Linked DNA regions of Homo sapiens: regions 1, 2, 3, 5, 6 and 7 are each linked to region 4. The links are contacts of gene promoters, found by promoter capture Hi-C in blood cells and fetal thymus (Javierre and others, 2016). All regions are on one chromosome and are shown on one strand. The core of a region is centred on a gene start or on the middle of the fragment in contact, and the rest is flanking DNA. Distances in the headings are between cores, read along the strand shown. Region 1 overlaps LOC124901993. Region 2 overlaps LOC107984005 (a long non-coding RNA gene). Region 3 overlaps SPAG1 (sperm associated antigen 1). Region 4 holds the start of PABPC1 (poly(A) binding protein cytoplasmic 1). Region 5 holds the start of COX6C (cytochrome c oxidase subunit 6C). Region 6 has its middle 33 kb from the start of LINC02844. Region 7 holds the start of FBXO43 (F-box protein 43).

Region 1 (3,234 bases), core at 388-2,887, 590 kb before region 4:
AGGACCCAAGAATTCAGTTAATGAAGATATTAAACCAATTGCGCTAGTTTTGTAGTAACTTTGGATCCCAACGCAAAAATCAAGACAGCTGACCAACCAGATATAGAGGGAGACAAAGGGACACTTTTGAAATGAAGATTGAAAAATCTGGGCCATGTCGTTGTTATACCTGGGTTTAATGTGTGCTGGAAACCTGGCTGATGGAGCCTCAGGACCAAGATGAAGAAGATGAAGCCTCCTATTTCCATCTGTTGATCCCATTCCATGATGGTCAGCCATATTGGAACATTCACATTTCCCAGCGTCTGGATTCTGGCTCCTGCGGAGTTGAATAGTAAACAGCACTGAGCACTCTGGTGGTGACCGTAACCAGAGTCATCTGAAAAAAATCATAAAGTAAAACCACAAAGCTCTGATTTGAAAAACATCATCTAAGACAAGAAATCTATTCGATGTCTGAACATACTCATCATCTCTGCAGGCCTGGCCAGCCGACTTTCAATCAAACTACAATGTCTAACAAAATGTTTCTCTGTTTTTAAGAAAAACAACAACAATAAAAAAATCTCTTCAGAGACAGAACTATCCAGGAGATCGAAGTTGTGAGAACAAACATTATTTTCACATATTTCTTTTAAAAGGAGACATACTTCTCAGGATAGTTCCCTAAATAAATAATTATCCAAAGGGCACCTTCTTCACCCTAGCCTTCTTTTTTTTTTTTTTTTTTTGAGACAGAGTCTCACTCTGTTGCCCAGGCTGGGGTGCAATGGCACGATCTTGGCTCACTGCAACCTCCACCTCCTGGGTTCAAGCAATTCTCCTGCCTCAGCCTTCTGAGTAGCTGGGATTACAGGTGCCCATCACCACACCCGGCTAATTTTTTTTGTACTTTTAGGTGAGACAGGGTTTCACCATGTTGGCCAGGCTGGTTTTGAACTCCTGACCTGGTGATCTGCCAGCCTTGGCCTCCCCAAAGTGCTAGGATTACAAGCGTGAGCTACTGTGCCGAGCCCACCCTAGCCTTCTGAATCTGAGACTCAGAGGGGTCCCAAGGAAAATCAGGTAGCTGCTACTTCAAGAAAGGGATGCTGGACTGGCAGGAGTGACAGATGTCCAGACACAGGATTTATGAGTGTCAGCTGATCATGACCAAGCATAGACCTCCCGTGGAGACAAACTGAAAGGCCATGTGGATCTAGAAGAGCAAGCAGCCCGCAAACATCTCAAACAGTGACACCATTTACAAAGGGCTGCCTTCTTGGCTTTCATACCTAGTCAGAAAGACAAAGAACTGCAATACTGCTGGCAGTTACTATTTAAGGATTTACTTGTCAAGTTGCTAAGGAAGTTGCAGAAACAGATGGACAATACCACTTAGGAGATGAAATCTTCAGAGTTCCTGAGGGTTATGGAGCCCCATTTCCATCCCTCCCTCATGCCATCTGGGCTTTGATGTGGGCTGTGACAAAAATACCACCACTTGACTGCAGAACTGCAGGATGTAAAATATGGCAATTTCACGGAGCTACATTGATAACATTCCTCAGTTGGTGTCTTAGCTGCCATATCTGTCTGACAACCTTGCCTTTCAATTCTTTCTGTGATACCTGGAAAACAAATATTTATGAAACGGAGAGAAGAAAGTATGAATTAGGAATATGCAATTGACATCAATATACACCAAACTCCAAGCTAGACACTGCCACATGTAATTTAATTTGATCTTCATAGTAATCCTGAAATGCTGATCAGAGAGGTAACTTTAAAAAAACTTAGTCTGTAGTTTGGGAGATAAAGCATACACAGAGAAAGGTTAAATGATGAAAACAACAGGTTGCAATAATAGAAAGGATTCATTCATTCGTTCATTCATTCATTCATTAATCAATAAACAATTACTGAGCACCTGACAGGCACTGTCCTAGGTACTGGACAAACCATGGTAAGGAGCTCACATTCTACTGAGGGAGACAGTCCGTGAACAACATCAACACGGAAAGAAGGTGGTGACAAGCGGGATGGTGGAAAGTGCTCTGGAGAACCAAAGGCTGCCAAGTGTGATGCCCAGTGAACTGCCATGAAGGGAGAGAGGAAGAGATGGGCTGAGCCTGGGCTGCCAAGGAGGACGCCTAAAGGAAGAGAACTCAACCTTGAACTTGAAGGATGAGTAAAATGTAAATGAGAAGAGTGCATTTATCTGTTCACCACTTAGGCAATATTTAGTGAGCACTACTGTCCATTAGAAATTCCAGTAACAATTAGGCTTTGTCCAGTAAACGATTATTACTGGAATGCCTGACAGAGAGATAGTTGCTCAATAAGTTAACTTAGCTTATTTCATGTGTGTGTGTATATATATATATGTGAAGTATATAGGCCAGGCTTGGTGGCTCATGCTTGTAATCCCAGCACTTTGGGAAGTCGAGGTGGGTGGATCACCTGAGGTCAGGGGTTCGAGACCAGCCTGGACAACATGGTGAAACCCCATCTCTACTAAAAATACAAAAATTAGCAGGGCATGGTGGCATACGCCTGTAGTCCCAGCTACTCGGGAGGCTGAGGCAAGAGAATTGCTTGAACCCAGGAGGCGGAGGTTGCAGTGAGCCGAGATCATGCCACTGCACTGGACGACAGAGTGAGACTGTGTCTCAAAAAAAAAAAAAAAAAAGAAAAGAAAAATATGTATCTCATATATATACATATAAAATATTTATAATCACATACACGTGTACACACACACACACATTCAGAGCTTATTATTATCTATCTACCAGGTGAAGTCCCAAGTGCTTTATATACTTTACTTCATTTCACCCCCAATGTACAAATGAAGAAACTGAATTATGGAGAGATTGAGTAACTCTAAGTCACAAAGCAACAGAGCTGGGATTTAAACCCAGGTAGTTCGGTTCCAGAGCGGCACTTTTAAGCAGCAGTCTGCAAAGTATGGCCCATGGACCAACTCCATTGCACTACCTGTTTTTATAAACACAACTTTACTGGAATATAGCTATACCTGTTCATATTATCTATGGCTGTCTTTGTGCTATAAGGACAGAGAGACCATATGGCCCACAAAGCCTAAAATATTTACTATCTGGCTCTTTATAGGCAAAGCTGGCCTTTAACTATCACACCACACTGCTTCCATGGATGGGGTGGAGACGGTGATAAAGTCCAGACCCTGCCCTCGAGAACATCACAGCCTAGTAAAAATAAGAAGCCATTTCA
Region 2 (3,241 bases), core at 158-2,657, 520 kb before region 4:
ATTTTTTTTCGTCTTTAAATGCTTGTGTATCTCATTGTATCTCATTGCTGACTTACAGAAATTATTTACTCCAGACTTTATTATTTTTACACTGTATTATAAATTCCAAAAGGTTATTTATTTCTGTGTTGTTTACTTCTGTATGCCCATGGCTGGGCCCAAGGCTTAGTACATAGTAAGCACTCCATGAATACAGGTTGTTGCATTTCATTTTTACAACCCAGTAAGACCATTTGCCACCCCGCCATTTAGTGATTGTCAGCACAACTTGTGGTTCTTGCCTAAGAACACTGGCTGGTTTCAAGACTTTGCAGCTAGCTTTAACTCTTAGACAGCAATGAAATATACAACAAGCTTCCTAACACTGGGCCAGATAAGCTCTTAGCATTTATAAATACAGAAACAATCAAAGTGCCAATGAGTATACCAGACAGCTTAGCTCTGGGACTGAACAAATAAGAGTTCTATAAGCACTCAAATAATCAATAAGCCTCCTTCTCACTAATATAAAAAATTACTTTGGCAGCTCTCTCACAAACTCTAGTTTCTCATCTGTGCAGAAAGTATTTTCTGAAGTATTTGTTCTTTTGAGAGCTTACAGATGGCAATGACTTACAAGCCTGTTTAATTCTAGTAACACACTTCATGATCCTAACCAAATTCCAAATGGCATCAGTTGACTAGACTTGAAAACTTGGATGCTCACAAAAATTGCATGCTAAATGCTTGTCAATTACATTCTGAAATAGTAGGCAGAGATGTGGATGGAAAAGGCCTTGAGATACAAGGATGACATGGAGAAAAGGACAGTGATAGGAAGGAACACAGATTGTTTGGATGACATTAAATAGATCAGTATAAATAAAGCAAAGTTTGTGAAGAAGAGATAAGATATGATATATGGATTGGGCTCTTACATGTTTACTCAAAAGCCTTGAATTCCATGTATTAGTTAGATATTGCTGTATAACAAACTGCAATAAAACTCAGTGGCTTAAAACAAAAAGCATTTATTATTGCCCACAATGATATATTATTTCCCACAGTATTGAAGTTATTTTGGTCCTGACTGGGCTCACTCATATTTCTGCAGTCAGGCAGGCTGTTCTGCTGATCTTGGCTGGTCCCTCTCACATTTTTGGTGATTGTCTGGCTGTAGGCTTTTATAGGAAAGAGTTAAATATTGTAGTTCTGATGATGTTGCTCCTCCAAAGGACCTGCTTATAGAGCTGACCCTTGGCTGGTTTCTAGGACCTTTGCTTTTGGAATGCTTCCTATGTTACTATTTATATTAGTTTTCTATTGCTGATATAACAAATTACTATAAACTTAGTAGCTTAAAACAACACAAATATTTTATATATTAGGGCTCTGGAGATTAGAAGTCTAAAATGGATCAGAAGGACTGCATTCCTTCTGGAGGCTCTGGAGAATAATTCATTTTCTTCCTTTTCAAACTTCTAAAGACCATCTGCATTCCCTGGCCCATGACACACTATGGTTTGGATGTTGGACCAAACCTCATGTTGAATTTGATCCCCGATGTTGGAGGTGGGGCCTACTGGGAAGTGTTTGGGTCATAGGATCAGATCCCTCATGAAAGGCTTGGTGTAGGATTTGGAGTAATGAGTGAGTTCTCACACTATTCGTTCCTAAAAGAGCTGGTTATTGAAAAGAGCCTGGCACCTCCCTTCCTCTCTTGCTTACTCTCTTGCCACACAGTCTTTGCACACAGAGGATCCCTTTTGCCTTTTGACATGAGTGGAAGCAGTTTGAGGCCTTCGTCAAAAGCAGATGTTGGTGCCATGCTTCTTGTACAGCTGGCAGAACTGTGAGCCAAATAAACCCCTTTTCTTTGCAAATTACGCAGCCTCAGCTATTCCCTTATGGCAACACAAAAGGACTAAGACATGACCACTTCCTCTATCTTCAAAACCAGCACCAAAGCATTTTCAAATCTCTCCCTCCTTCAGCGGATCTCTGCGCTCTACTTCCTTTATCTTGCCCTTGCTGACTTTAATCCTGAATAATTCAGGAAAATCTTACCATTTCAAGATCCTTAATGTAATCATATGTGCAATGTCCCTTTTGTCATGTAAGGTAACATATGAACAGGTTCTGGGTATAGAAACTTAACCACCTTCAAAGGGCCTTTATTCTATCCTTCTATCTACCACCTAACTGATAAGGCTGTTTGGCATGCCCACGGCACTGAATCCTACCACACCAGCTTGCCTAGAATGTTTATCCAAACACTGTGATTTACACTGGACTGGAATTTCAGTAATTGTGGCTGATCACATAGGCATCCTCTGCCTATTTCTGCAATAAAATCCCAGGACTCTGAGCCTCCAGTCAGCTTCCCTAGTCAGAAATATTGTGTATGTGTTACTTAATTTTATTGCTGGAAGAAAAAGTGTGTTCTGTGTAATCCACCTCCTGCACCAGACACAAAGCTTTGGAAGCCTGCACTTAAACTCCTCCAGACTGATGTGACTTTTTCCCTTGTTGATGCTGTCTTGTATCCTTTGATCACCTATAACCATGAGCACAACTGACTCTGAGTCCTGGGAGTCCTTCTAGTGAGTCATCAAACATGTGGGTGGCCAGAGGACTCCTCCCCCTCCCCCAGACAAGGCTGATCTAAGATTAGACTCAATTGGGACAATGAGGCTCCCCTCTCATGATTTCTCTTCCTCCAGCAGGCTAGTCCAGGCTTGCATTCTCATGAGAGGGTTCTGAAACACAGTGGCAGCTGCAAGGCCTCTTGAGGCACAAGGCAAGCTGATATTCAAGGGAGGGAGAAGTAGATTCTACCTTATGATGAGAGATTTTCAAAAATCTCACTGCAATGGGTATGGATACAGTGAGGTTTTTAGCTGGCAACATCAATTCAGTCCATCTACTATATCCTGTTAAGAGCTTGGACACTCTTCAGTAGTAATGGGGAATGAGAATTACTGTTTTTATAACAGGAAAATAAGATAACAAAAGCAGCACTTCTGGTTCATTAACTGATGGTGAGAGTAAGATGGATTAACAAGCAGGAAGCCGTAGAGACAAAGCAGTTAGAAAGCTGCTGGAATGCACTCATCAGTGATTGGAACACCAGCCAGAAAACCAAGTTATCTATTTGAAAATGGAAGAAAACTATGTTAATCAAGACCAGTTTGGGTAGAGCTTGTAATATTCATACTTTTTCTCTCAAAATTTTTTTTTTTTTGAGACATAGTCTCACTCT
Region 3 (3,356 bases), core at 378-2,877, 530 kb after region 4:
CTAAGACAAGGCTTTTTTTTGGTGGCCTTTGATTGTAATCATAGATGTCCACTGTAAAAAAAAAACACACACACACAAAAAGCGGTGTAACAAGTATAAAAAATAAAGAAAAAATCACCTAAAATCTTGCCATTCAGATACTACTATTAACATTTTGATAATCATCTTTCTAGATGTTTCTATGCATATATACCCACAGAGATGTACAGTTTTACACAAATGAAATCATGCTACATACGCTGTTTGTTTATTTAAAATATAGAGATGAGGTCTCACTATGTTGCCCAGTCTAGTCTCAAACGGTGGGATCAAGCAATCCTCTCACCTCAGCCTCCTGAAGTTCTGGGATTACAGGCGTGAGCTACCACACCCAGCCCACATTACTGTTTTAGAGTAATGCTGAAAATTCTGAAATATTTTATGCTGACTCTGATGAAAAATAGATATATCATCCTTTGTTGGATATACGATTTTCAAATATTTTCTCCCAGTCTGTGGTCTGTGGCTTTTTTGTTTGTTTTGTTTTGTTGTTGTTGGTGTTGTTGTTTCTGAGACAGGGTTTCCCTCTGCTGCCCCGGCTGGAGTACAGTGGTGCAATCACAGCTCACTGCAGCCTTGACCTCCCGGGCTCAAATTATCCTCCCACCCCTGCCTCCCGAGTAGCTAGGACTACAGGCCCACACCACCATGTCTGGCTAACTTTTTAAATTTTTTGTGGAGATGAAGTTCAGCTGTCTTGCCCAGGCTGGTCTTAAACTCCTGGGATCAAGTGATCTGCCTGCCTCAGCCTCCTGAAGTGCTTGGATTACAGGTGTGAGCCACCGTGCCCAGCTGTGGCTTGTCTTTTATTCTTCTAATAGTGTCTTTGAAAAGTATATGTTTTAAATTTTGATGAAGTCCAATATATCAACTTTTTCTTTTATGGATTGTACTTTTCATGTCTTACATAAGAAATATTTGTCTAAGGTCATAAAGATTTTCTCCTATGTTTTCTTCTAGAACTTTTATATTTTATATCTTACATCAAAAAGTATATGATCCATTTTGAGTTAATCTTTGCATATGGTTAAGATAAAAATGCATTTGAAACCAGGCACAATGGCTCATGCCTGTAATCCTAGCACTTTGGGAGGTGGCGTGCACCTGTGGTCTCAGCTACACAGGAGGCTGAGATGGCAGGATTGCTTGAGCCTAGGAGGTGGAGGCTGCAGTGAGCCATGTTCCCACCACACTACAGTTGAGGCATCAGAGCAAGGCCCTGTCTCAAAAATAAATAAACATAACCATTACAAAAAGGAAATACTAAGCCAGGCCCTAAACCTAAACCTAAAATGTTGACTTGACAAAGCAGCTGATATTCTAGGAACATTAGCTGCCACTCAGAGACAGTGGGATAGGTAACCCAATAGGTGTATGTGGAAACTTAGTAACAATTTTTCCATGGGTTTCTCTTATTTCTGACTATACTGCCAGCAGAGGCACTAAACCACCTTCTTTCTGGACATCTCTAAGGATGTTTGTACTGAGAACAACCTTGGCAAACAGAAATAGTATTCATCTGCAGCGGAGAGGGCAGGTGTGTTGGCTCTCCAGTGTAATAAAGGTGATGCTTCCCTATGGAGCAGAGATTGGGCAGGTTTGCTTATATCCCATCATAAAAGAAGCAGGTTTCCTAAATTTTTGTTTGTTTGAGATGGAGTCTCACTCTGTTGCCCCAGTTGGAGTGCAGTGTTGGCCAGGCTGGTCTTGAACTCCTGACCTCAGGTGATTTGCCTGCCTCAGCCTCCCAAAGAGCTGGGATTACAGACGTGAGCCACTGCACTCAGCTGGTTTCCTAAATTTTTGATTTGTCAGCCATCACATAAATCCATTGAGTGTGCAACATCCATCTGGGCCACTCTATGTCACCCCTGTGGGACTTGGGAGCAAGGGGAACTGACATGAACGTGAAGCTCATCTGCTTGGAGTGACAAAGTCTTTTCGTGTTTGACTCAGGATATCTTGTATCCTCTGGTAGGCCACCTTGTTCATTTGTAAGCAGGGGAAAATCTCAGTTCTTGACACTTACCTCTACTCTTTAGGCGTGAATACAGATCCCCTAAGTGTATAACTGAGTCAGTCTGCTCAGTCAGGTAGCAAATGCTACCATGCTCATTACAAAGAGAAACACTCTTCAATGGCCACAGAGTTCACCCCTAATCCTACCTAGGAAGGTACCTTCTATACCACTCCACATGGCTCAGAGAAAAACATTGCCTACAACACTATAGGAAAAAGAAAAATTGATATTTGTCTTTCAGAGGAAGGTTTATAGTTTTGAAAAAAAATTTTAAGATTCTGCTTTCTTCCACTTGAAATAGATGTTAACGTTTTGGGGTGTCTGGAATATACCTACCTTTTAAAGCTGTGACCTGATCTTCAACATAATTTGTTTGGCAAGATTGATACCACTTTAAAATAAATACAGAAACAGCCAACTACAGAATTAGGTGAGAAATCACATTCTATACTTACCTTGGCCAAATCATTATCAGGCTCAACATCTAGTACTTTACTCAAATCTTCTGTAGCTTCCCGGAGCTTGTTTTGATGTTTATATGTAGTAGCACGACGCAGAAGAGCTGAAAATTTACCAATATAAAAGTTATGTTTTTTAATATGTGGCATTATGGTTACAACATATTTGGCAAGTGGAAGATATGAGCAGCACAGAATACTTTAGGATGTAATTACCCAAAGCTCAACTACACCCTTTTTCATGTTGATACACACATAGGAGATGACACTGAGGTACATAAAAGAGGCTACATCAGCCAGCTGTCCCCTCTATAACAACCCTCTGGCCCTCTGGCAGCCCCAGGCCCCGCCAGCTTTTCCAAGAACTAAGAGATTTCATACCTCAACCCTTCACAGGCAACACATTGTATTGCAATATCGGAATGATTTTCACTGATAATAATCCTTTCCTTTTTATAATTATGGCGAGTATTATTTAGCCACTTTTTGAAAACATAAAATCCCTTATCAAAATTTAGTATATTGGCTAGGCACAGTGGCTCACACCTGTAATCCCAACAATTTGGGGGCCTGAGGTGGGCAGATCACTTGAGGCCAGGAGTTCAAGACCAGCCTGGCCAACATGGCAAAATCCCATCTCTACTAAAAATACAAAAAAAAAATTAGCTTGGCATGGTAGCACACATCTGTAATCCCAGCTACTCGGGAGACTGAGGCAGGAGAATTGTTTGAGCCTGGGAGGTGGAGGTTCCAGTGAGCCAAGATTGTGCCACTGTACTCCAGCCTGGGTGACAGAGCAAGACTCTGTCTCCAAAAAAAAAAAAAAAAAAGAAAAAAAA
Region 4 (3,043 bases), core at 543-3,042:
TTGACCTCGTGATCTGCCCCCCTTGGCTTCTCAAAGTGCTGGGATTACAGGCGTGAGCCACCGCGCCTGGCTACTTTTTGTATTTTTAGTAGAGACGGGGTTTCACCATGTTGGCCAGGCTGGTCTCGAACTCCTGACCTCAAGTGATCAGCGTGCGTCAGCCTCCCAAAGTGCTGGAATTACAGGAGTGAGCCACCGCGCCCGGTCACATTTTATCCTCTTTTTAATAGGAGCAAAATAGTATTTATGTGGGATTCCACTGGTTTAAATTCTAATTAAATGAGACAAGATATAAAGTACTTAATTCCACACCTAGCAATACAGTTGACATCCATTAAAGTTTATTGAATTAAGGAATAAATTGGGCAATCATTTAACTTCTTTGAGACTGTTCCTGTAACAGTAAAGTAAAATTATTACTACTTGCTCCACCTCCCACACCAGATTGCTCTCAGGAACAAATGATAGTATGTTTACGCGAGTGCTTTAAAAACTGTAAAAGCACTTTACTACTTTCGAGTGGAATTTGTATGTTGATTTAATGTCATTCCTAGAGCCGGTTTTTATTACTATCAATTCGTTAAATTTAGCATTCCTATTAAAACCCACTACTAATGTGCAGAATTGTTTTAGTTATTTATAAGGACGTTGTTTTAGACTATTCCTAATTTTGTCTGGTTGCAGGGCTGTGGTGCCATATAGTAGTGATTGTGACAAACCCGTACTTTCAGGAAAAACATTCACTTTTCTCCACTCCTGGTTTCTATCGCCAAGAAATGTCTGGCAGAAGCAGCACAAATCAATGATTCCAGCCTAGCACCTTAAGGTAAGAAGTGACCAAAGACCCCCAACACAGCTATCCCAAATTAAAGCCACTTTGACCAACGACAACGTCCAGTGAAGACACGGAGGAGGGTCGGGCTGGAAAAGAAGAGGACGAGGAACCCGAGGGGCCCTCCCCTCTCTCTCCCTGCCCCCCAACCCCGCGCCGGGAGCTCCAGCGGTGCCGGGGTCCAGCGCGCAGGACGGTTGGGGGGTCCCGGAGCGGGCGGCCAGGACCCGCGCAGCCAGTTGGTGTCAGCGAGCGCCGCGGCCGTTGGGGACTCCAGCTCCCAGCAGGCACCGCTTCTGCGGCCGACGCGCGTGGCGGCGGTGCCGGCTGGGACTCGTAGTGCGGTCCGGGTAGGAGAGAGCAGGGGGCCACGCTGGCTCCATCTACGCACGTTTCGGAAACCGGGCCCGGAGGGGACCACGCCCGCTCACCCGTGCCCGGCGTCCCCCGGAGCTGGGGCTAGAGGAGCCGGGCCGGCCGCAGCGGGAAGAGGCCACAGGCGGCCGCGCACGTGGGGGGTGGTTAGCGCGGAGGAACCCGGAAGCCCTTTGCACCGCCCACCGCCGCGGTGACGGGTTAACGCTCCTCCTGGTGGAGGCAGGGGCGGGCGGGGCGGAAGGCGGGGACGCCTCAGCCAACACCCCCGAGGACCGCCCGCGAGCCGTCCTCCCCACCCCCACGGACGCGACGCAGCGCGGGCTCCGCTTCCCCGGCCGCGGCGCCTGCGCAAAAGCCCCGCCCCTTCGCCCGAGCCCCACCCCCACACCGCAGCCTCCACCGCCGCCACCTCTCCCTTCCTCTCTGCTCTTTCCTCCTGTTTTCTCTTCCCTCCTCCCCCTGGCCTCCGCGTCTCCTCCTACTCCGGCGCTGACGCTCGCGTAGGGGCCCTGGCGTCAGACGCGCGGGGGCGGGGCGAGTGCGGCGCGGGGTATAAGTAGAGGGTGCAGGAGGCGGTGCTTCCCCTTCTCCCCGGCGGTTAGTGCTGAGAGTGCGGAGTGTGTGCTCCGGGCTCGGAACACACATTTATTATTAAAAAATCCAAAAAAAATCTAAAAAAATCTTTTAAAAAACCCCAAAAAAATTTACAAAAAATCCGCGTCTCCCCCGCCGGAGACTTTTATTTTTTTTCTTCCTCTTTTATAAAATAACCCGGTGAAGCAGCCGAGACCGACCCGCCCGCCCGCGGCCCCGCAGCAGCTCCAAGAAGGAACCAAGAGACCGAGGCCTTCCCGCTGCCCGGACCCGACACCGCCACCCTCGCTCCCCGCCGGCAGCCGGCAGCCAGCGGCAGTGGATCGACCCCGTTCTGCGGCCGTTGAGTAGTTTTCAATTCCGGTTGATTTTTGTCCCTCTGCGCTTGCTCCCCGCTCCCCTCCCCCCGGCTCCGGCCCCCAGCCCCGGCACTCGCTCTCCTCCTCTCACGGAAAGGTCGCGGCCTGTGGCCCTGCGGGCAGCCGTGCCGAGATGAACCCCAGTGCCCCCAGCTACCCCATGGCCTCGCTCTACGTGGGGGACCTCCACCCCGACGTGACCGAGGCGATGCTCTACGAGAAGTTCAGCCCGGCCGGGCCCATCCTCTCCATCCGGGTCTGCAGGGACATGATCACCCGCCGCTCCTTGGGCTACGCGTATGTGAACTTCCAGCAGCCGGCGGACGGTGAGCGCCGGGCTCCGCGGTCGGCCGGGCGGGCGGGCGGCCATGAGGCTCGGGCGGCGGCGGCGGGCGGGGTAGGCCGGCGGGCCCGGGGAGGGGGGCGGGAGGGCATGTCACCCCGCGACGGCCGGCGGGAAGGCGCCGGGGTCCCTGGAGCCGCGTTTCCCGAGCCGGCGGGGACCCGCGCTGCCGGCAGCCACACGCCCGGCTACTTCCTCCTTTGCGACCATTTTCTCGGCCTCAGACGCTCTCAAACTTTAGGGTGATGACGCGCCGGGAGGGTGGGTGAGATTCGGTTCCTCCGCGGCGCTCCCGCCAGTGGCCCCGGGATTCTGGGGCGTTGAACGCTGAGCTCCTTCCGTGGGTAAGAGGTGGAGGCGCTCCCACCACCCGGAGCTCCTGCCGGCGCCCCAGCCTGGGGAGGAAGTGCAGTTCTGTGCTCGAAAAATACCACGTGTTGAACCCTGTAACCTCGCAGGCCCGAGGCCTGCTTCTGCTCCTGCTCCTGGCCCAGTCGCCTGGGGGAGCCACCAGGCCTTAGGATAAAGTTCCTGTGG
Region 5 (3,032 bases), core at 43-2,542, 830 kb after region 4:
AGGTCTGTTCGGCTCTAGAACAGAACCTATATGTAACATGTCTCTCTTCATCTATCGCTCAGGTTTTATTCACGTGTCACCCTCAGTCATTCACTATGGTTCACTGGATAGCTAGGGAAGCACAGAACAAACACTCAGTATTTCACTCAGGTCAGGCTCTGTGCCCTGAGTGTGCCTGTCTTTGCCATGTTCTCCCAGCCAATGTTTTCTCTCCAATTTCTCCAGTTTTCCAGGCTTTCCATTAGACTGAAACTCAGCTCTGCTTCCATCTCTTCCACGTATTGTCTGAAGCTTTCCCTGATGGTTTCACATACACTAATCCCTGTGAACTCTTAAGTTCACCACTTCTTCTCTGGGGGTGGGGATGGAAAGAGAATAGAAACAAATTACTCTCTGGACAAATTCCATGCAAAGATTTTCAGCTGGGTAGACCCTTGATAAGAGGCCTGAAAAACGTTGGTAAAGTCCAAACCTACTTTTGAACCTCAATTGAGCACCTTTCTTTGTGGCCAGGTTTCACCCTCCAGAGTGTTGGTTAATAGGTTGAGGACAAAGACTCCCTGATCAGAATGAGACTCCCCGAAGATCTGTCCTCTTGTTTAGCAGAATCTGGCACATAGTAGGTACTCAGTGTATATATCGACTCAATATCATGCATCTGTTGTGTCCCAGCTACCTTCCACAGGGCTTGATGGGTTGACTTAAATAATGCTTTTAAAATTCAGGTTATTTCAATACAAACAGCCTGGCATCATTAAGGCACAAGAGCCTCACCCTTCTACACCACTTTCCACGAACTTCCAGTTGCCTTCCTTCAAAATCCTTGTTTTCTTAAGAAACCCACAAAAATACCGCCCCTCTATCAAAACGTCCTCAGCTTTGCCAGGTAGAGAATTGCTTCTGCAGTAGCTGGGCCACGTCTCTGTGGTAGTGCCCACTGCATGGGATCGGTATTAATCTGTTTGTCTTTTTCATCTTCTGGGCTGTGAGCTCCTAGAAGTCAGCTTTTTCACTTTTACCCAAGCCAAACGGTTATTCGCGTAAGGTTGGTTATAATTAAAATGTCGGTTTGTGCACATGGTTTGGGACTCTGTGTATGAGTACGACTAATATCTTCAATTTACTAAGAAGATAAAGAGGTCGATAAATAAGGAGGTCAAGCCCGTTTTGCAAGGTCACACAGGAAAGAAGCAGACCACGAAATGAACTTCGGCTGTCACCTGCGGTGGGCGCACTAGAGGTCTTTTGAACTCCTTCGGCTACCGTCGCCGCGTTCTCGCTGTGCACTCTTATTCTGCGCCTGCGCGCGGCTACAGCACGGTTCGTTTTTCCTTTAGTCAGGAAGGACGTTGGTGTTGAGGTGAGTCCGGTCCCTTTTGCATCCCTACCCCGACACTGCGGGTTGTCACAACGGCACCCTCCCGCTTTCTCTCTGCCTCGGATTTAGTCGTGACTGTGTGTCTCCGCCGTGGTGCAGCTTCAGGCCTCTCCCGCATCTACTCTCTCACGCTTCCGCTGCGGCCTGAGGGAGGGCGGCGGGCGGACCACGGACCGGGGTGGGTTGCGACGGCCCCACCGAAGCCGGGTGGGCTGCGGGACCCTCGAGAACCCAGCTGGCTTCGGAGTGAGCTGGCCCGGGGCTGGTACCCGCTGCGCTTTTTCACAGCCATTGTGACCTTGGTGAGGTCATTTGACCTATCTGGCCCCGGTGTTTCTCCCGTGAGAAAAGGGGTGGTGGTTTCTAATGCAGCTGGTCGTGAGGCGCAAGGGTTAGTGTAGGCGAAGCAGCTGGCAGCGTCGCTCGCTGTGTGGCAGCGTTTTAAATTAGAGCTGGAAAACTGGAGGAGGGTCACCGTACCTGCCGCAGGAGGGGAAGGATGGGCTTCCTGCAACCTCCCTTGCCCCACGGCTTCCCATCCTACCCCCGGCCGCGTTAGCTGAAGGCCAGCAGGGACGCAAAAGTTTTTAGGCCCCTTAGGTCTTTAGGTGAGGCTGGGCAAAGGAGCAGTTAGGGAATTTGGGCCCTCATGGTATTTGCCGCGTTCCCGTCCAGGTTTTAATGGTATACCGTGTGACCGTGGAAAACACCTGCCTCATGATCTGACAGGGTTGTCGCGAAGGTTTAACGAGTGGACAGAAAATTTTTAGAAGAGAAAGTGTTGCATAAATGGGTTTGCAATCGTTAATTACCAATGCGGAGCTACTGCTTATTTTTCTTGTTGTTGGAAAGATTTTTGTTGCCTTTGCTCGTCCATTACTAGTGTGCCGCAGTTTGTCGCGTTTATTTAGGGTGGTCGCTCAGTATATGGGGGGCGGGGGGAAGATGAAACAGGCTAAGCCAAGAGACAGCTTAGGCTTTGTGGGAGGAATCCATCCACTGTCGTGCTGTGCCTCTCTAGGTAGTAAAATGTACTATGCATGAGAATTCCTTTTGATATCTTTTCTGAGTTTTTCTTTTATTATTTTACCCGAGAAAGGGAAAAAAAGCTCAGAGTAGTGAGAGCTACATGAGGTATGCAGGACGCAGAGACCTGAGTATTGGACTTCAGTGCCGCCCCTCACCCATGTCTCAACCCAAATCTTATTCCTGAATTTGTGATATAAAGGACAGCGTTTAGTCAGTCAATAGCTTATGTTATTTTAATGTAAATTTTTGATAAACAGTTTAGGAATTGCCTCTCATTTTTTCTTAACTCACTTGTAGGCCGGAATCCCAGCACTTTGGGAGGACGAGGTAGGATGATCACTTGAGGGCAGGAGTTTAAGACCAGCCTGGGGAGCATAGCTAGACCCTGTTTCTGCCAAAAAAGAAAAACATTCATTTGTAACTGCTGCTAATCGGAGTGTATATTCAGGGCAGCTCCAATCAATGCTTCCAGGTGGCCATTCTCAAGTTTGTGGCTTAAATAAACTCTGTACTTAATCATATTTTCTGAATCTCTTAAGGTTAGCATACGTATCAAGGACAGTAACTACCATGGCTCCCGAAGTTTTGCCAAAACCTCGGATGCGTGGCCTTCTGGCCAGGCGTC
Region 6 (3,220 bases), core at 395-2,894, 570 kb before region 4:
CAGTAGCATTCTTCCCCCTGCCTCCACCACCAGCCTGCCTACCACAGGGGAAGAAAGAGCTGTTGGAAATCTAGGCCTCACAAATCACCTCAGAACTGTCTCTTCTTTTTAGATCTTCCTGGGTGTGGACAGTTGACAGTCGCATACACTGTGCTCTGGGAAATCCAGGGCTAGTCATTCAATGGAAAGTAGGAATTTGGGGCCTCAGATGAGATAACATTGCTGCTCTTTTCTCCCTTGAATATGGAACTTTCTCAAAACTGTGAGCCTCCATTCACAAATAGCTATGTAGTCATCATCAAATGGTATCAGTTTTGGACCTTCCCTGTTTATATGAAGCTGTGCAGACATTATATAAATTTGCCATTCACCTTAAATCTAGGCAGGTTCTGTGAGTGTTTCGATCAGGTCCAGGCTTTAAGAGTCAGGAAACTTTCATTTCCTGTTGCTCAGAGCACGGGCTCTGGGAGCCCTCCATGAAAGAAGCTCAACTGCTTTGCTGGAGAGACAACATGGAGAGGCTCTCCTGGGAGAAGAAGAAGGGCTCAGCTGAGCATTGCCTTCCAGCTGTCCCTACCAAGGCACCAGGTGTGTGTGTGGCCTGACCCTCCAGACAGACCAGCTGCCAGCTGATAGCCACTGAATGTTCCCTATCTATATCACAGGCTGCAGCCAAGTCCTCCCTAAATTCCTGATCTATAAAACTGAGACAGAAGAAAGTGATTGTAGTGTTAGTCCTCTAAATTTGGGGGTAGTTTGTTATGTAGCAACAGGCATCCACAACAGAATTTGATGACTGCCATGTGCATTGTGAGCTAGTTATTTTCTACAGGATCTGAGGATAGAAATGTAGGGGGCATCGATCTGCAAATCCCAGTCAGTATCCACATCACATAGTGCTGATTTCAGACCCCTCTCTCTGCATAGTGATAAACTAATGAGTTTACTCATCTCTGGAGCAGGGATCATTGAAATGGGAGTCACAGAGTTGTTGGGGTGACAAAAGAAATAAGAAGAGCTTTAAAATGTGAGAAAGCCAACCCAAATGTTTTAGTTAGCAATGGCAGTTACAGTCACAGTATCACAGGAGAAATGAAATGGAGAATAGTCATTCTTGTTTTAACATTGTCTTGTTTTAATATTGTCTGGTTTTAAAATCGCTTGTTTTAATATTGTCTCCAAGTATGGATATTGATCATGGGTTTAAAGCCATTTGACTTTTCATCACAACTCATTTTCAATATTTAAGAAGAAAAAATAAAACAAGGGAACATGAAAACGAATTACTTTTTTCTCCCTGAGAGTTTGGGATCGAATGTGTTACTTGCTAATGTATTATGTAATTTGTGGATTATGTAATTTGTGGACAAATTTATTCTCTTCCTGTCCTGAGCTGACCCCCTTCTCTCGCCTGCCTTCTGTGATTCACATGCACTTTTATGTGTGCCCTTTCACTACAGTGTAATAAAAATCTGCTTTGTAGACTATACTTAAGCCTGTGACTACTATTTAAAATCAATTGTCCTTCAGAAAGGTTGGTCAAGCCTAACACAGATAATGATTAAAGACTGGAATGGAAGAAATCTGCCTCTCCAGGGAAGATGGGTCAGACAATCATGGCATGAACTTGAGCCCAGAAAACAGCCAGCACATACAAGTCTAGAGAGCTGCCTTTGAAGACATCTCTAGTTTAGTCTGCACATAGTGAGATCTGCAAAAGATTAGAAGCTGGAATTCAAGGGCTGTCAGGAACCAGACCAACACAGCCTCTGGGACCCAAGGCCTTTGATTAGAATATACGGAAGTCTGTTCTCGAGTAACTGAGAAAGAATATACAAATGCAGATTTCTTTCTTGTAGAGTAAGATTCTTGGGCCAAATTTTGAATTTTAAACACCAATTTGGAATTTCCGTATGTTTTTGGCTTTTGTGAAAGGCTTTGCTCATTGTTGACTAGCCTACTCTAATCAAAACCAAATCAAACGAATGGGTTTGAAAAAAACTATGAGGCAGGCCTGTCTTTGCTTAGCTTCCCTCCAGGACTGCTGTGTTTGAGGAGGTTAGGAAAGATCAGTGTAGCCTGGAGCAGGAGCTTTTCTGTGCCTGAGGTCTTCACCTTTTCATTTGACAGAGTCCCTGTAAACGTGGGTAACCTGGCTCTTCCAAGATCAGGGCACCATCCTCCAAAGGCAGCATCCCTTGTTTAGAAAGGAAGTGGTAACTCCCTGGATATTAATATTGAAGCCAAAGATGGGATCTCCAGTCCAGTCCCATGCTCTGAAGAGAAGGGGAAATTGCTGATACTGTGTTCCCTGACAGTGATCTACGTTTGCTTGAGCTGAGAAAAGAATGGAGGCGTTCCTTTTACCAGCAAAGCGGAAATTTTTCAAGACTGAATTCCCTGACATTCAGAGATTCTACCCTCAAAACGGCCAAGCCCCAGAACCAAGGTAGTGTGGTGGCCACAGAACACAGCAAGCAAGAGTAATGTGCCCCAGAGGAGCCTGCAGGTGTTAACCTGCAAACCAGCACTGCACAGGTGAGGACAGAGGCACTGGGGGTGAGGTGCAGATGAGGGGCCTCCCAAACTGAAGCCTGGGGGCAGGGCTGAAAGGGCAGCAGAGAGACCAAAAGTAGGAATTTGCAGACAGGCAGGCTTGGCTCTACCATTCATGTGTGCTTTTGTCAAGTCCCCTGACCTCTAGGCTGGAGTTTCCCCATGGGAGAACGAGGGTATCACCTGCCTTGTGCTGGAGGTTGTTTGAGGATTCTGTGTGAGAACATTTGCTGCAGGTCACCCTGATAGCACAGGGAGAAAGTGGGCAGGAAGGAGCTGCTGCAATGTAAGATTCAGGAAGCCACGGTCAATCTGGGGCAGGCAGGGCTGAAGTTCAATGCGAAGTCATTCCCAGCTTGGAGGCGAGAAGCGATGGTTCTACATAAATATTTACGGCCACAATCAGGATTGCTCTGGGATCTCAGGAGAGAGTGCGGGGAGTACCCCTAAGTCTCTCCATCATCATTAACCTCCTCAGCTGTGCAGACAAGGATGGCTGGGCTGGGGACACCAGGTCACACAGTTGAGCTGACACCCACCCAGGCTGTGCATATCCTCAGTTGTTAACAAATGCTTCTATAAATCCCCCACAGTTCTGAAATCCAAGTTCTGTTGCTTTTCCAATCTTCATGTTTCCATCTGGCAAGATTTTTCTCCTTAAAAC
Region 7 (3,091 bases), core at 562-3,061, 580 kb after region 4:
TGTCCTCCATTCTGCCACCAGAGTGGACTTTCTAAAATGCTCTTCAAACTCTGAAGGTGCAACCAGAACTTCCCAAGACTTAGCTTCTTCACTTCTCAGGAATTTTCTCTAATCCTTTCCTCTAACAACTCTTAGTTTCTGCCTATAACAAATTATTTGCAGCTTCTCCATGTGCCCAACTGCTCTTGCACATTTTGTTTTGAGTTTGAAATTTTCCTGCCCTTATACATTTTAAGTTTGGAATTTCCTGCTGTCTGCCTTTTAAATTGCCACTTGTACATCAAAATCTATCTCATGCACTCTGTTCTCCAGTAGAGTTAGCTGGTTCTTCTTTCCTTTGTGCTGCTACTGTTCCTCTGTTACAGCACTTGCTCTATACCAATGAGCTCCTTAACAGCAGTAACTGTGGCTGTGTCAGCTCTGTATTCCCAGTACCTAGCACAGTAATTGGCACATAGTTGGAATTTAATAACTGTTAGTGGACGGGCACAGTGGCTCATGCCTGTAATCTCAGCACTTTGGGAGGCTGAGGCAGGTGGATCACCTGAGGTCAGGAGTTCGAGACCAGCCTGGCCAACCTGGCAAAACTCCGTCTCTACTGAAAATACAAAAATTAGCTAGGCGTGGTGGCGGGTGCCTGTCATCCCAGCTACTCGGGAGGCTGAGGCAGGAGAATCGTTTGAACCTGGGAGGTGGAGGTTGCAGTGAGCCAAGATTGCACCACGGCACTCCAGCGTGCGTGACAGAGCGAGACCCTGTCTCATAATAATTTTAGTGAGTTTGGTTTTGGATGACTGAGGGACATCCAGTTGGAGAAATGTCCAGTCAGAGAAGAGTGGTGGTAGTGCCTGTTATTGGCTTAAAAGTGATGGTTGAAGTTCTGAATAAGAATTACATAAGCATGGGATGATAAACTAATAAAAATGCTGAGGTAGGACCTCTCATTTAGGGAGTAGGCCAAGGAAAAGAAGCCAGAAAAAGGAGACTAGGAAGAAGCTGCCAAGAGCAGCAGGAGTGTCCCTGGCATATAATAGACGCCCAGTAAATATTTATTGAATGAAAAAATTAGGGTTTAAAAAATTTATTTGGCTTTGAGGGTACTTGGGAGTTCATGATGCCCAAAAATGGATGTTTGTAAACAATGAACACATTTCACTCTGGTTTTTATGAATAGATTTTTTAAAAATCTTTTTTTTGAGATGGGGGTCTCACTATGTTGCCCAGGCTGGTCTCAAATTCCTTGGCTCAAGTGATCCTCCCACCTCTGTGCTGGGATTACAGATGTGAGCCACCAGGCCCGGCTCAGCTTTTTTATCACAAAATCTGTATATATTCATTGTTGAAACATGAGAAGAAAACACAGATAAAAAGAACTAAAAAGCAAACATAATCCTGTACAAATTTACCGTATCCAAGTTATTCATACCTTTCAGACCTCATCCTGTGTATATCCATATTTTTAACCTAAAAGGGGTCAGTTTGTAACTTGCTTTTTGCACTTGACAGTTTGGAGAATCATTTCCAAGGGAACATTCTCATACATGATTTCTAATGGCATCCCACTGTAGGCCACGTTAGCATTCCTAAATACGGTAATGCTTCCCAAAGTGGGAATGGGGAGAAGCAGAGCCTTTCTGACCCGCCTCGGGACGGGTGCAGGGGTGAGCGAGAGAGGGGGCGCTCCTCCCGCTCAAGCGAGGACCCAGGCCTGCGGGCGGCCGGGCGGGAGCGCTGCAGAGCCGGAGGAAGGGGCGGGACAGCGCGGCGCGGGGCGGGGCTGCGCTTAGCGGTTACCCCGGGCGGGCCGTTCAAACCTAAGGAGGTAAAGGCAGCGGCCCCACGCGAAGCTGGCGTGGGGGTTGCCATAGCCCGCATCCCAGGGGGCGAGGCCGAGGCTTCTCCCCGGCCCATCCAGCGGCTGCTGCCCGGCTCCTCTCCCACCTGTCCGCTTCGGCGCCTCGCCCGGCCCCGCGGCCTCCAGGCAGGCGGCGGGACCCCAGGCGAGTGCCCGTTAGCGGGTCTCCCGGCGGCCCGGCCCCGCGTCGCCCTGTGTCTTCCAGGTGCTGGGCCTAGGGAGGCGCGCGGCAGCCCTCACTCCTCCGCTCCTGGTGACGCCAGCCCATCCCCTGCTGCCCTTGGCTTTCTGGGCCTAGCGGATCTTTGACGCCCTGGTGAGACCGTTACCCACCCGCCCGCCATAGCTCCTCGGGGGAGTCAGTGCCAGGCTGCAGCACACGCTGCCTTTTCAGGAACCCGAATTTGGGAAGTTTACTCATGTCTAAGTCCAGCTGGAGAAAACAAGGATATTAAGATAACTATTTTCTGGAGGGCTGAAGGAAATTCAAAATGATTTAGACCTTCTCAAGTGTTAGGAATAATCCCTGCGGCATGCACCCTGTGTACCCTTCGACTTTGAGCAATCATGATGCTGCTGCACCTTTCAATTAATTGTGCAAACTAAAGTTTTCCTCTTTAAGTGGCATTATTTTGGCATGAGTTTTAAAGACAAAGATGAGAGAATTTCTTGTTTGGAAGCCTACGTAACTTTGACATCTAAGAGCTCAAGATTTACTGATGGTAAGAGTTTCCACTTTAACAAATGAAGAACATTTGGGTTTAATGTAAGTACTTCATTCTCTGATGTGGTAGGTGCTTTTTCTTTTTTTTCTTTTTCTTTTTTCTTTCTTTTTTTTTTTTTGAGACGGAGTCGCTCTGTCGCCCAGGCTGGAGTGCAGTGGCGCGATCTCGGCTCACTGCAAGCTCCACCTCCCGGGTTCACGCCATTCTCCTGCCTCAGCCTCCCGAGTAGCTGGGACTACAGGCGCCCGCCACCACGCCCGGATAATTTTTTTGTATTTTTAGTGGAGACGGGGTTTCACCGTGTTAGCCAGGTTGGTCTCGCTCTCCTGACCTCGTGATCCGCCCGCCCCGGCCTCCCAAAGTGCTGGGATTACGGGCGTGAGCCACCGCGCCCGGCCGCTGCTTTTTTTTTTTTTTTTCTTAAAGAACACTTTAGGAATAAGTTTTCTCAGCCTTTTATCAGAAGCCTAGTTTTTAAAAATGAATATCGAAGAGGCTTGATTGATTTATC

The links. The method cuts DNA at HindIII sites, captures the fragments that hold promoters and counts their contacts. A CHiCAGO score of 5 or more calls a contact.
Region 1: a contact is called between a fragment that was not itself captured here and the fragment with the promoter of PABPC1 in region 4, in 2 of 17 cell types (total B cells and naive B cells). The highest score is 5.7, in total B cells.
Region 2: a fragment that was not itself captured here is called in contact with the fragment with the promoter of PABPC1 in region 4 in 2 of 17 cell types (total B cells and M0 macrophages); the score reaches 6.7 in total B cells.
Region 3: a contact is called between a fragment that was not itself captured here and the fragment with the promoter of PABPC1 in region 4, in 1 of 17 cell types (neutrophils). The highest score is 6.9, in neutrophils.
Region 5: the fragment with the promoter of COX6C here is called in contact with the fragment with the promoter of PABPC1 in region 4 in 2 of 17 cell types (fetal thymus and naive CD4 T cells); the score reaches 5.4 in fetal thymus.
Region 6: a contact is called between a fragment that was not itself captured here and the fragment with the promoter of PABPC1 in region 4, in 13 of 17 cell types (total B cells, naive B cells, fetal thymus and 10 more). The highest score is 13.7, in total B cells.
Region 7: a contact is called between the fragment with the promoter of FBXO43 here and the fragment with the promoter of PABPC1 in region 4, in 8 of 17 cell types (neutrophils, naive CD4 T cells, non-activated CD4 T cells and 5 more). The highest score is 12.5, in neutrophils.

The regions. Positions count from the first base shown.
Region 1 is chr8:101,312,452-101,315,685 of GRCh38, reverse strand. LOC124901993 reads right to left here. Exons shown (of 6, transcript XM_047422526.1): 2 at 1,375-1,610; 3 at 170-319. The coding sequence starts at 279. Among named protein-coding and RNA genes, the nearest start is that of LINC02844, 51 kb to the right of the region's middle. The HindIII fragment of the contact is 6,164 bases long and covers 1-3,234 here.
Region 2 is chr8:101,244,998-101,248,238 of GRCh38, reverse strand. The region is part of intron 1 of LOC107984005 (a long non-coding RNA gene); the gene reads right to left. Among named protein-coding and RNA genes, the nearest start is that of LINC02844, 16 kb to the left of the region's middle. The HindIII fragment of the contact is 2,102 bases long and covers 357-2,458 here.
Region 3 is chr8:100,190,655-100,194,010 of GRCh38, reverse strand. SPAG1 (sperm associated antigen 1) reads right to left here. Exons shown (of 19, transcript NM_003114.5): 9 at 2,515-2,621. Among named protein-coding and RNA genes, the nearest start is that of SPAG1, 34 kb to the right of the region's middle. The HindIII fragment of the contact is 9,407 bases long and covers 1-3,356 here.
Region 4 is chr8:100,720,837-100,723,879 of GRCh38, reverse strand. It overlaps PABPC1 (poly(A) binding protein cytoplasmic 1), which reads left to right and starts at 1,792. Exons shown (of 15, transcript NM_002568.4): 1 at 1,792-2,489. The coding sequence starts at 2,297. RefSeq lists enhancers at 665-1,165, 1,166-1,666, 1,721-2,553 and silencers at 956-1,665, 1,746-1,825, 2,506-2,615. The HindIII fragment of the contact is 6,173 bases long and covers 1-3,043 here.
Region 5 is chr8:99,891,967-99,894,998 of GRCh38, reverse strand. It overlaps COX6C (cytochrome c oxidase subunit 6C), which reads left to right and starts at 1,292. Exons shown (of 4, transcript NM_004374.4): 1 at 1,292-1,360; 2 at 2,947-3,032. The coding sequence starts at 2,978. RefSeq lists a silencer at 1,511-1,680 and enhancers at 1,154-1,801, 1,802-2,450. The HindIII fragment of the contact is 2,962 bases long and covers 294-3,032 here.
Region 6 is chr8:101,294,334-101,297,553 of GRCh38, reverse strand. No RefSeq gene overlaps it. Among named protein-coding and RNA genes, the nearest start is that of LINC02844, 33 kb to the right of the region's middle. RefSeq lists a silencer at 1-57. The HindIII fragment of the contact is 5,723 bases long and covers 1-3,220 here.
Region 7 is chr8:100,144,537-100,147,627 of GRCh38, reverse strand. It overlaps FBXO43 (F-box protein 43), which reads left to right and starts at 1,811. Exons shown (of 5, transcript NM_001029860.4): 1 at 1,811-2,577. The coding sequence starts at 2,493. RefSeq lists a silencer at 1,628-2,087. The HindIII fragment of the contact is 15,929 bases long and covers 1-3,091 here.